4 separate regions of the Homo sapiens genome follow, and all the other regions are linked to region 2. The links are contacts of gene promoters, found by promoter capture Hi-C in blood cells and fetal thymus (Javierre and others, 2016). All regions are on one chromosome and are shown on one strand. Each heading gives the region's core, a stretch centred on a gene start or on the middle of the fragment in contact. The rest is flanking DNA. Distances are from core to core; before and after follow the strand shown.

What was found. The method cuts DNA at HindIII sites, captures the fragments that hold promoters and counts their contacts. A CHiCAGO score of 5 or more calls a contact.
Region 1: a contact is called between a fragment that was not itself captured here and the fragment with the promoter of PGBD2 in region 2, in 9 of 17 cell types (total B cells, naive B cells, neutrophils and 6 more). The highest score is 13.1, in total B cells.
Region 3: a fragment that was not itself captured here is called in contact with the fragment with the promoter of PGBD2 in region 2 in 1 of 17 cell types (neutrophils); the score reaches 6.7 in neutrophils.
Region 4: a contact is called between a fragment that was not itself captured here and the fragment with the promoter of PGBD2 in region 2, in 6 of 17 cell types (monocytes, M2 macrophages, total B cells and 3 more). The highest score is 7.2, in monocytes.

Annotation. Positions count from the first base shown.
Region 1 is chr1:248,691,278-248,694,670 of GRCh38, reverse strand. All of the region lies in intron 3 of OR14I1 (olfactory receptor family 14 subfamily I member 1), which reads left to right. Among named protein-coding and RNA genes, the nearest start is that of OR14I1, 9.8 kb to the left of the region's middle. The HindIII fragment of the contact is 9,246 bases long and covers 1-3,393 here.
Region 2 is chr1:248,904,749-248,908,027 of GRCh38, reverse strand. PGBD2 (piggyBac transposable element derived 2) reads right to left here and starts at 1,793. Exons shown (of 3, transcript NM_170725.3): 1 at 1,686-1,793. RefSeq lists silencers at 1,348-1,437, 1,848-1,907 and enhancers at 1,528-1,717, 1,242-2,163. The HindIII fragment of the contact is 4,441 bases long and covers 1-3,279 here.
Region 3 is chr1:248,730,106-248,733,284 of GRCh38, reverse strand. No RefSeq gene overlaps it. Among named protein-coding and RNA genes, the nearest start is that of LYPD8, 24 kb to the left of the region's middle. The HindIII fragment of the contact is 4,902 bases long and covers 1-3,179 here.
Region 4 is chr1:248,710,529-248,713,692 of GRCh38, reverse strand. No RefSeq gene overlaps it. Among named protein-coding and RNA genes, the nearest start is that of OR14I1, 9.3 kb to the right of the region's middle. The HindIII fragment of the contact is 2,355 bases long and covers 531-2,885 here.

The sequences.
Region 1 (3,393 bases), core at 803-3,302, 210 kb after region 2:
GAAATTCTCATGGTTAGATAGATTCTGTCATATCCATGAAACAGAGATGAATACCACCATAGACAGAATATGGCCATATTCTGATGAAATGAAAAGCTCTTCAAGATGTACTTTTAAGGGGAAAAAAACAAGATGTAGAGCATTTGATATAAAATGCTGCCAATGGAAAGAAAAGATGCATTTGGATATGTTTGTAAGTAACAGACCATTTCTGGAAAGGTAAACAAGAAAGGAATAACTATGGTTGCTAAACAGGAGTTGTGTTGGGGGCTGAAGAGGGTAGGATAATATACGTCATAGGCATATATTATTTATTTTTACAGTTACACAATTAAAAACAAATGTAAGTAAATTTTTAAAATGGGACAATATATGAAAAAAAGTTTTAAAATTTGTTTTTGCTCCCGAAAAAAAAGGCTTGTTACAGAAAATATTATATTCAAACAAACTTCACTACTAATCATAACCACTAAGCAATCTCTGATCAGCAGAGCAAAGGAGGGCACTTTTGAGGAAACAAGTGGTCACCTGGTTAAGTATGAGATTAAGTATCACTTTCTCCCACTCCCCTCAAAGTTGCCCACATGCCTCCCTCTGCCCCTCCAGTGCCTGGCTGGGGCCCTGATGTCCCAAGGCAATGGCATGTGAACTTGAAGAAAATTATTAGAGTGTGTGCCACATGCAGACTGATAGGTCTTCCTGCCCTCTCAACCAAATGCACAAACACTCTTAAGCCCAATATTCCAGTAAATGGTTTTTTTTTTTTTTTTTAAAAAGTTCTGGACTTTGATTTCTGTTAAAATGCAGAGCATACCAGGCAAGTTAATAGCACTGTTCTTAGCTATTCATAGTGAGAGGAACGACGATTTTCCCATCCTTTTTTTTTTTTTAAATGAGCTTTGATTGAGAAAAATCAGTGGGGCTGGGTTTGGGCTCTAGAGGAGATAAGATAGGATAGAGTGGAGAAGACAGAGGATGGGGAAAGGAGAAGAGAACTTGAAGATTGGAAGCTCCAAGATAAACTTCCACATTTTACCTAAGGCCTGTCCTCAAAATAAATAAAACAAGACTTTCTGTAATGTTTTATTAGGTGTGGAAAGCAGAAGAGAAGAAAATATATCAAGAAAAAACTAATTTTATGTAAAATTATGCTGAACTCTTTTATCTTATCAAAAATCCTAAGTTGGCTCATAATGAATTCTTACTAAGTGGTAACTATTTTTACTGTGATGCTGGTCCACCAGTATGGGGCAGGGGGAAAGGACAGGTGGGTGGTGAGTCTATTTTCAGTCTGCCCTTCTCTTTCTCATCAAAGGAAAGATGAGAACTTTGAGAGGCTGAGGGAACCAGGAAAGGTGCAAGGAGGTGGCCAGGAATAGTCAATGCTCCTGGCCGTGAATCAGTACACCACCCAGGTGACGTGGGAGCAGGAACAGTCAGTGCTCCTGGCCGTGAATTAGTACACCACCCAGGTGACGTGGGAGGCTGGCTTGGGAGGTGATGCAGGATGCCCTGGCAGCAATGGGAGAAATGTTAAAATGATTATGTGGCACTAACTGAATGACTCCTCCCGATAAGCAGACCCAGAACATCTTACTTCTGTGAACAACCAGGGAGAGTTAGAGGCTGCTCACACAGTACCCTATAACCTTCAGGGAAATCGGGGAAGTAGAACTACTTGGATGAGGGCTCATGATTCACGTTTCACTGGTGAACATTTTCTCTCCCCACAATTCTCCCAACATGAAGTGGTCTCTGGAGAAAGACAGACAAACATTAAAGCTCTCTTTAATGAGAGCTTATTACATGCCAGGCATTGTGTCAGCCCTTTACTAGCTCACATGTTCCTTACAACTATAATAGGCAGGAACCAATATTCTTAGTACTCTAATAAGGATACCTAAGAACAGATAAGCTCAGCTGCTTTCCTGAGGCCAGGCAGTCAGTTAAGTGGTTGATCAGAAGGCAACACTCAGGACTGTGTCCCCAGCACTGTTCTGTAGACTGTAAGCATTATGAGGGCAGGAGCCGTGTCTGCTCTTTCCTTATGCCGTGCTGATGAGTACACTGCCCAACAAAGAAAGGTGATTGGAGGTCTGCAGAATGCAAAGGGGAATGTGGCTGGGAACGCGAGAATGAAGGCAGAAATGCCGGAATAAAGGCTGGACTGGGGTAGAGAAAGCAGGTGGGGATTCAGAAATGCGGGTGGGAATCAGAGCAGGGATGTGGGAATGCGGAAACGCAGGTGGGAACGATGGGGAGAAAGTGGCAACGTTGGGGGATGCAGTTGGGAATGCAGGAATGAGGGTGGAAATGTGGGAATGCAGGCTGGAAGAGTGGAGAGTACAGGAATGCAGGAGGGAATTCACGAATGCAGCAGGAACCTGGGAATGCGGGAATGCAGAGAGCGACGCTGCGGGAAATGCGGGAGGACCCCAAGCCATCCGCTCACCTGTGAAGAAGGGCATGAAAGTAAGGCTGCAGGCCAAGAGGAGCCTGCCCGCCACCGAGGGACGCGTGGCTGAGGCTGCGGCCGGCCCCGTCGCTCCGTCTGGAAGAGAGGAGCCAGTGAGCTCAGTTCCGCGAAAGGGACACGCCCAGGCGGCCGGGCCCGCGCTCCCGCGCCACGCGAATGGCCTTTCCGCTGCTGGGCGAGCGCCCCTCACAGCGCCCCCGGATGCTGGGTGGGCCGCGCTGTGAGCTCGGCCTCTGGAGGCACCTGGGACTCGGAAACACTGCCTAGCCTAGAGACTTGTAGGCCCGAGAGAGCCTCTGGCCTGTCCGCTCCTTTCCACAGCGCGCTGTGGGCCCGCGGGAGCAGCTGGACCGGCAGCTGCGTCCTGAGGTGGGCGGGGTGGCTTGGTGAACCCGTACCTGACGCCGGGCGGTCCGGGACAGGCGGGTTGGCCGGGCTAGGCCGGAGGGCACTGCGCATGCGTCGGCCTCCACAGTCCCTTTGGCCTGCCCCATTGGTCCTCACTTCCCGCTCTTCCCGCCCTCTGGGAGCCTTGGCCAATGAGATCCTGGTGGCTCCCGGCTCACGTGACTGGAGAAAGCCTGGTGGGCTAGTTCCACAGTTCTGACGATTGGAAGAACTTGGAGGAGCTGGAATGTCTGTTTTTCCGATTCTTTGGTTCTCACCCCACCCAATTAAAGATATGCTATTGTGCCTCACCCTCTTCCCTACCTAGTCTAAGCATTTTTGAGGAAAGGGTACCTATATACTTAATTCTCTGACGGGAACATTCTACCCTACCAATACCCTCCAAGTCATCAATGCATCTAGTGCAATTCTGGCACCTCAGAATATTTTCTAACATACTCACACCTCCTTGAGACTGAACACTTTGAAAGGACAGGGACTGTGTATGTATGCATGATCCACATACTTCC
Region 2 (3,279 bases), core at 544-3,043:
ACATGGGAATTTTTGCTTGTTTCACAACACTCTGAAACTCTGAAATTAATTCAAGATAAAAATTATTCAAAAGACATTTTATAGATGTAAATGCCCCAAAGCTGAGCCAGGTGCCTAACTGTAGGGAAAAGAAAGAGAAGTCAGACTGCTACTGTGTCTATGTAGAAAGGGAAGACATAAGAAATTCCATTTTGACCTGTACCTTGAACAATTGCTTTGCCCTGAGATGCTCTTAATCTGTAACTTTGCCCCAACCTCTTTGCTCCAACCTTGACCTCACAAAAACATGTGTTGTATGGAATCAAGGTTTAAGGGGTCTAGGGCTGTGCAGGACATGTCTTGTTAACAAAATGTTTACAAGCAGTATGCTTGGTAAAAGTCATCACCATTCTCTAGTCTCAATAAACAAGGGGCGCAATGCACCATGAAAAGCCACAGGGACCTCTGCCCTGGAAAGCCGGGTATTGTCCAAGGTTTCTCCCCATGTGATAGTCTGAAATACAGCCTCGTGGGAAGAGAAAGACCTTACCGTCCCCCAGCCCGACACCCGTCTGTGCTGAGGTGGATTAGTAAAAGAGGAAAGCCTCTTGCAGTTGAGATAGATGAAGGCCACTGTGTCCTGCCTGCCCCTGGGAACTGAATGTCTCCGTACAAAACCTGATTGTACATTTGTTCAATTCTGAGATAGGAGAAAAACTGCCCTATGGCAGGAGGCAAGACATGTTGGCAGCAATGCTGCCCTGTTATTCTTTATTCCACTGAAATGTTTGGGCAGAGAGAAACATAAATGTGGCCTACGTGCACATCCAGGCATAGTACCTCCACTTGAACTTATGACATAAATTCTTTTGCTCACATGTTTCTTTGCTGACCTCCTTATCACCCTGCTCTCCTACCGCATTCCTCTTGCTGAGATAATGAAAACAATAATCAATAAAAACTGAGGGAACTCAGAGACCGGTGCTGGTGCAAGTCCTTGGTATGCTGAGTGCCGGTCCCCTGGGCCCACTGTGGTTTCTCTATACTTTGTCTCTGTGTCTTATTTCTTTTCTCAGTCTCTCCTCCCACCTGACAAGATATCCCACAGGTGTGGAAGGGCAGGCCACCCCTTCACCCAACAGCTCAGAATGGCTTTTGTGGGATACGGAAGAACCCTCCCTTCTCTTCACCTCACTAGCAAAAGAGAAAGAAGGGCAAACAAAGACCCTCAGAAACCTCAGCAGCTTCCCAGGCAGACGCAGTTAAAAACGACCCGCCCCCAGCGCGCCCCGGCACAGAGCCACCCCGCCCCAGGATGTGACGTGGCATTCGCAGTCCCGCCGCCAGCCTCAGGCCGCCCGCCTCCTTCGTCCCGCCCACCCCGCCCGAGCCTGCCCTGGTCCCTCCCACCCCGCCCTGAATCCATCCCTCTTTAGCCCGACCCCGCCCTGGTCCCCACCCACCCCGCTCCGCCTCCCGCTCAGCCGGCCCGGCCTCCGGCCTCGCACCCCAACCCGCAGAAGGAGCGCCCCCTTGCGGCCCTCGGAATCCCATTGTTCCTGTCCTGGTCCCGCCAGCCCACCGTCGGCGCGCAGTGGTGAGGACGAACTCCTCGGATGCCGCCGTTGAGAAAACGCAACATCAACGCCAACCACTCCTGTACTCAAGCGAAGCCCTGCCTGCAGCGCGAGCACACTGAGGCCTACCTGCCCTACCCCAGACGGAGACTCGCGAGCCCGAACCGGACCATGAGCCGCGCCGAATCGGAGCGCTGCGCCTGCGTTGGCGTCGGGCGTCGCGGCCGCGCAACGTCCGGCACCAGAGGGCTCGCTGCACCTCGGCCGGCCTTCCATGCCACGCCCCCGGGCCAGGCCACGCCCCGGCCCGAGCGACCATCGAGACTCCAGGACCTCCGCGGCGCCTAGAGGGATCCCGAAAACGCCTGCGAGGCCAGAACGGCCGAAATAACCCACCCCAGCGGGCCAGCTCTTCCCGCCACTCTCCCTTACCCTCCCACCCCTGTCCTACTTTGGAAACCTTCCTCGCTCCTTCCTAATCAGGAGAGCATGGGGACTTTCTAGGGTAGTGGTTCTCAAATGTGCCCCCAATCTAACAGCAGCTTCACCTGGGAAATCGATGGAAATGCAAATCTTGGGACCCCACTACAGGCCTTCTGAGTAAGAAACTCTGAGGGTGTGCCCAATAATCGGCCTTACCAACCCTGAAGGTAATTGTGGTACAAACTAGGGCTTGAGAACCACTGCTGTATGGCAGGGTTTCTCAACCTCCACTCTTGACATTTTGGGCCTGGATAATTCTTTGTTGAGAGGGAAGGAGGCTGTCCTGTGCATTATAGGAGGCAGGGTCACGGATAAAATACAGTTAAATTTGAGTTTCAGGTAACAGTGTTGTTCATCTAAGATTCACATTTAACTGGAAGTCCCTGTATTTCATCTGGCTACCTTGCCTACCTATATTTTTACTTGGTAAAAATAGAACCTTAATTGTAGGATATTGAGCATCCCTAGCAACTAAATGCCAGTAGCACACCACACTCTCTCCACTCTAGTTATGACAAATAAAAGTATCTCCCCCTACTTCTTGAGAATCACGGCTCTATAAGGACTTTGTCCAGCTGAAACCCAGTAGCCCATTAGGTATATAGGACAGTGTACTCCGCAGAAAACTGCCTTGCCCTGAAAGGCTTTGAACACAGAAATCCCTGGGACCAAACCGTGTTAACATTCAAAAAGAGGGCCACTTAGTGAAGAGTTTGTATTTGCTTCTCCACACTGACACTTCACAAAGGTTTTTTGGTCACTGTAAAGTGTGTTCCAAAACCCCTGGATCAGAAGAAAAAAATCATGCTCATTTGTGAGATTCTGAAGTGAAGGGCACGTATTAGTTTGTCATTCATTCCACATATGAGCAAATTGAGAAAACAGGCAATAAGCCATGGGAAAATGGGAGTGCTACTCTAGGTAAGGTAGGGTGGTGTTTCTAACTTGCTTTGTTCCCCAGATCCTGTGTCTCATTCATTCATTCAAGTGTTAAATGAGTGTCTTCTCTGTGACAATCACTCCTCTGAGCAGTGATGTTAGAACAGTGAAAAAGAAAAGGCACAAGAGAAAAACCCTCTTGTCATTTCAGTGGGAGAACCAGACAGTAAACAAAATATATGGCATGTCAAAGTGGAAAGTGCTAGGAAGAAAATAAAGGAAGCAAAGGGGACCAATAAGACTGTTGTGAATTCAGTTTTAAATAATTTGGTCAGGGAAGGTTGGTAAGTGAGAAGGTTGT
Region 3 (3,179 bases), core at 296-2,795, 170 kb after region 2:
GATTTCATGCAATTCTCCCTGATCACAGAACCCCAGGGAAAGACCTGAGTGAGTGGTTGCAGCTCTGTGCTGGCAGCTGAGTGCCCTGGGTGAGTCTGCTTCCTTCTGTCTCTAGTTCCTTATAGAATCTGTGAAATGGTGATTTCGGGATCCCTCAGGTTCCTCTCAGCTTCTGTTCCTTTAGAACCTTTTAGCCACAGTGGGGACTTGGGCTTGGATATCATCCCCTATGGGCTTCAAGGTGGGCAGGAAGGGACAATACAAAATTTGAGAACTCGTCTTCAAGTGAACACAGTGGCCTAGGGGCCTAGAGACAGCCATACTTCTTCCTCAATGGAGGAACAGAGTTGGGGTTTGGAGAGATTTATTCTGAGCCAAATATGAATGACCATGGCCCATGACACAGCCCTCAGGAGGTCCTGAGAAAATGTGCCCAAGGTGGTTAGGGCACAGCATGATTTTACATATTTACGGGAGACATGAGACATCAATCAAATACATTTAAGAGGTACCTTGGTTTGGTTCAGAAAGGCAGGACAACTTAAAATGGGGGCTTCCAGGCTACAGGTAAATTTAAACATTTTCTGGTTGACAATTTGTTGAGTTTGTCTAGAGACGTGGGATCAATAGAAAGGAATGTCTGGGTTAAGATAAAGGATTGTGGAGACCCAAGTTCCTATTTGCAGAGGAAACCTTCAGGTGGTAGGCTTCGGAGAGGATAGGTTGTAAACTGTTTCCTATCAGACTTAAAGTCTGTGTCCATGTTAATGCTGGAGAGGTATAATGAGACATGTCCAACCCCCTAAAACAGTCATAGCCTAAAACAGTCTCTTAGGTTAAATTTTAAAAGAGCCCTGGCTGACGAGAAGTCCATTCAGATGGTTGGGAGGCCTTAGAATTTTATTTTTGGTTTACAAGGTACTTGTGCACCCCAGTATATTCAATCTTGTGTTGGCTAAGAGTGGACTCCCAGCTGTCTTTCTTCCTGCCTCCAAGTCTTCGTCTCACTATTTGTCTTTTTTCTTTTGGAATTCAGTGCCTCATTTGTGTTCTCCAACCCCATCTCACCTGCTTTCACTTTTTCTTCCCCTGTGACCATAATATAGCACTAAAGTTTATCTTTTTTATTTCTTACATTGAATAGTTTATATATTTTTCTGTATAAGCTAAAGTAGTCACTTTTTACCTGGATGGTTCTAGCTTTTATTTGTTTGCTTGCTTATTCATTCATTTTCCTCCTGAAGGTCAGAGACGTTCTTGGCCAAAAGAATTTTCCACGCTCCATTTCCGCCCCTTTTGGGGCCTGAGCACTCCAGAGAGCTTGGGAACGGCCCAGGCTGAGTTGCAGATGGTGTGTGCGCTTTGCCTTAGGGCTCACCTTCTGGTGTGTCCTTCCAGGGGTTGCTCATCGACACTTTGGTGGGGGCACACTCCCACCACTGGAAGAGCCCTGGGGTACTTGGGCCTCTCCTGGGCCTGTCTGTTGTCCAGATCACTCCAGCTGGTCATCTCAGCTTTATAAACAGCAACCAATTAAGAGCGGCCCACCTGAGTAGTAGTCTACTGTAGATACCCTTATGCAATTTCGCTTTTTCTCACTTCATAGTATATTCTGGAAATCTGTTGCTTCTGTTCATGGGGTCTGCCATTCTTCCGCAGTGCGTCACCGGAGTCCACAGTGTGGCTTTTCAACTGCTCTGTGCTGTATGGGCTTTCAGTTTGCTCCAATATTTTGCAATCACAATGTTTCAATGAATACCCTTGAGCATTTGTATTTTTCTATTGCTGAATTTTATAGGTAGATAGCCATGAGTGGGGCAGGAGAGCGTTCTCCCTCACCCACTAGAAACGTCAGGTGCTGGTTCAACAATTATCAAACTGCCTGTCTAAAAATGATAATTCCGGAGCCATGGAGAGGAAGATCTCCTCATGATCCACAGCTGTTAAACATTGAAGTGTTCATTGAATGAAGACCCCAGGGAAGAGAAACTTCCTGGACATGCACATTAAGAAGACAAAAATGTCAAGCATGACATTACTGGTACACGCCACTGGAAAAAGAAAGCAAGCCTGAGATGGGCATGCGTATTACTCCCTAAACACACTGCGCATGCTCAGTTTCAAAGGGCAAGGAGACCACTGGGCATGCGGAAAGCCCGCCCTAAGGGAAGAATCATGGGAAAGAGGCGAGTCTATAGAGTTCTAGGATTAAGGTTAAAGGCCTCCTTTTTTCTCTCTTGGACCTTCAGGCGCCCCCTTGGGTCTCTTCCAAGCAAATTTTCGTTTCTTTCCTTTTCCAAAGCCTTTTAAAATAAACTTCCACTCCTGCTCTGAAACTTGCCTCGGTCTCTTTTCCTGCTTTATGCACCTCAGTCGAATTCTTTCTCCTGAGGAAGCAAGAGCTGAAGTTCCTGTGGGCTCCTGTGGATGCCGCGGAAAACTCAGGGTATCTCAGATCTCTGCTGCCACTAACACTGAAGGTATGTCTTCAGAGCAGATTCCTAGAAGTTGGATTGCTGGGTCATTAATGCACAGGTAGTTTTGTTAGGTTTGCCAAATTCCCCTACGGAAAGATTGTGCTGACCTGTGCATTCCTAACAGCAGTTATGCCAAAGAATGTTCCATTTTCCATTTTAATGTTTGCCAGTCAGACAGCTGGGAAATAAGATTTCAAGGTTGTTTTAATTTGCATTTCTTTAATTATGGAGTTTGAACATTTTTCATGTATTTGAAGTCCATTAAGATTTTATATATAATTTATCTGTGTATGTCTTTTACCTACTTTTCTGTTGGATTTATTTTATTTATTTTTCTATTGGACTTCAGTTTTTTTGTCCCTCATTTAAAAAAAAATTTTAATTTAATAGGCATAGAAACAACATTATACTGATAATATGACCAGAAAGTTCTCTCACTTGTTTTTTTTTTTTTTTTTTTGAGAGAGAGTTTCGCTCTTATTGCCCAGGCTGGAGTGCAATGGCACGATCTCGGCTCACAGCAACCTCAGCCTCCTAGGTTCAAGCCATTCTCCTGCCTCAGCCTCCCGAGTAGCTGGGATTACAGGCATGCACCACCACACTTGGCTAATTTTGTATTTTTAGTAGAGACGCGGTTTCTTCATGTTGGTCAGGCTGGTCTCGAACTCCGGACCTCAGGTGATCTGCCTGCCTCGGCCTCCT
Region 4 (3,164 bases), core at 459-2,958, 190 kb after region 2:
GGCAAAATAAACTTCAGATCTTAACCAAATTTTGGGAGATCAGGTATTCTCTGTGAAGCAGTATTGTTTGTCTGGGGTAATACCTGAGGTTTGTTGCCTGACACCAAGGAAATCAAGGACACAAACACACCAGAGTGAAGTTAAGTGTGGAAGTTTAATAGGCTAGAGAAAGAAAAAAAACTCTCTCTCCAGAGAGAGAAGGGGTTCCAAGTGGGTCTTCTGGTTTCGTGATGAAATGCATGTGGTTTTATGGATTAGCTTGAGGAGGCATAGTGTGATTTACACAGGAGACGAGAGATTGGGAGGAGCAGGTGTGCCATTTACATAGCACACAAAGAAGCTGGCAGCCCCATCCTAATCTTTTATTATGCAGATGGGTCCCCTACCTGGCTGGCACCATGTTGTCTGTTCCTTTACTGTACATGTGATTGAAAGAGAAAAGGGAAGATGGAGCCTCCATGTTGAACATGCCTGGCCCCCAGGTAGCCTTTTCCTATTGGCACAACTGCCAGCACTCACCCATGCAAGCTTCTAGCTTGCTTTTCCATGTCTGCAGCTTGATTTTTCAGGCTGCTCTTTGTTAGAAAAGAAATGATTTGGGGTCTGCTTTTTATTAAAAGCAAAACCTTGCTAAGGACTCTCTTACCCTCATTAACTGCCTAAATAATTTCTTTCTAGCTCCTGTATCATCTGGAGGGGGTGCTCCCAGACCTCAGCAAATTGTCCTATTGGTTTGAGCCATAAAGTTAGCTCATGCGGGTACCAAGCACCAATAGGAGATTTTTCAAAGGTCAAGGGGCATCTCCATTCAGAATCCCTCCACAGTTAACAAAATGTGAATCCTGTATATCTGAGATAGGTCTCAGTTAATTTAAAAAGTTCATTTTGCCAAGGTTGAGGATGCACACAAAGGACATAGCCTCAGGTTGTCCTGAGGACATGTGCCCAAGGCGCTCAGAGCGCAGTTTGGTTTTATACATTTTAGGGAGACATGAGACATCAATCAACATATGTAAGATGAACATTGGTTCAGTCTGGAAAGACAGGACAACTCGAAGCAAAGGCAGGACAACTCGAAGCAGGGAGGGAACTCCCAGGTCATAGGTAGATAAGAGACAAATGGTTACATTCTTTTGAGTTTCTGACTAGCCCCTCCAAAGACCAAATGCAATCAGATATGCATTTATCTCAGTGAGCAGAGGGGTGACTGAATAGAATAGGAGGCAGGTTTGCCCTAAGCAGTTCCCAGCTTGACTTTTCCCTTTAGCTTAGTGATTTTGGGGCCCCAAGATTTATTTTCCTTTCACAAAGTCTCCAACTATTATTACATTAGGGGTCTATCTCTCCCTTTAGATCTAATTGTATTTGCTTTACATTGGTGCTCCAGTGTTGGGTGCATATATATTTATAATTGTTATACCTTCTTGCTAAATTTATTTCTTCATCATTATTTAATGATTTTCTTTGTCTATTTTTATGTTTTTTGACTTAAAGTCTATTTTGTCTGACATAAATAGAGCTATTCTTGGATGCTTTTGATTTCCATTTGCATGGAATATTATTTTCCATCCCTTTACTGTCAGTCTTCATCCCATTGGTGGCATTCATGGGTGCTGGTGTTGGTGGTAGCAGGCTCTGGGCAGGCCATTCCTTTAGCCCTTGGGCAGTATGTGCAGGTGTGAGATGACACTACCACTAGAGTGGATGTGTCCTGCAGCAGAAGCAGCAAAAGCCCAGGCAGGTGGCTTTCAGGGTCTGGGGAGCACACACACCAGTCTTCTGGCTCCACAGGGTATAAGGGGCTGCATGGGCTCAGGTGCCAGGGTCACAGCTGCACAGCTATAACAGATCTCAGTTGTGTCTTTATGCAGCAACACTCTGGGTACCTGTGGTGGGATGTGGATGAGACCCCAGGGATGGATGTGGAGATGAAGGAGCAATTGGGCCCCTGGACAGTATGTACTCTGGTGATGGCTCCACTCCCAAAATGGTGCCATGCTGCAGCCCTGGGTCCTGGGACATTGGGGGAATCCAGCATAAATTCTCTCTCTGGAGTAGTAAAGTCATGTGGACTCTAGGCAGTACCCTATACTAGACTAAGGGACTGTGAGGGCTGAGGGCTCTCCTGTAGCTATGACTGCAGGTGTCTGGTGGAAATATAGACTTCTGGGGACCTCCTGCTAACCTTTTCTCCGCAATGGGGAGGGAGTCCCTCCTGGCTCCAAGCACATCTCGGTAGGCTGCATTGCTTACCTCTCTATGCTGTCATCCTGAGTTTTTGTGCCTCAAAGTTTCTTTTCTTTGAATTTGAACACTATCTGCTGAATTCCAGTGTTCTTCCTTAGACATTCTAGTCAATGTGTGTTTATCAATTTGTTACTTTGGTCCTTCTTTGTGGAGAAGGTGAGTGCTAGGCATCTCTAGCCATTTGATCTCTCTGTCTTCTTTTGAGCTACTGACTCTTAAAAAACCTTTTTATTGTGGCAAAATATACATAGCATAAAATTTGCCATTGAAACCATTTTCAAGTGTATAACTTAGTGTCATTAAGTACATTCACCACGTTGTGTAACCACCTCTACTATTCATCTCTGAAACATTTTCACAATCTCAAACACAAACTCTACACATTAAATAATTGTGCTTATGCTTAATTTTCACTCAACTATGTACATTTTTGATTCCCTATTTATATCTCCCTATTTTATCTTTATAAGATACAAAGATATAAATGAAGAGCAGCATGAAATTGCATCAACATTCAAGTTTGTTGTGTTCTTTTTCCAGCTTTTCTTCTACTGCCCTATATAATTATCATTCTCTTTAAAATACATACGCTATTGCAACTGGATTCATTTTTAGAAACTGGTTTTCAAACAAAAGCTTAAAATCTCCATAACCGGCTGTGGATATTGCTGCCGTTGCTGGTTTTGAAACTACATTTTCTCGTAACCTCTTGTGAAATTTCTTCAGGACACTAGGCAGATGAAGCAAGCTTAACTCTGTCAGTAGGATGAAATATGTAGTTTTAAACTTCCCTAATTGTTTTAAACTTTTTTAAACATTCCTAAATAAAATAAACTTCCCTAAATAAGAGAAAACTTCCCTAAATAAGATTGTTTTAAACTTCCCTAAATAAGATAAAAACCACCCACCACAAAACT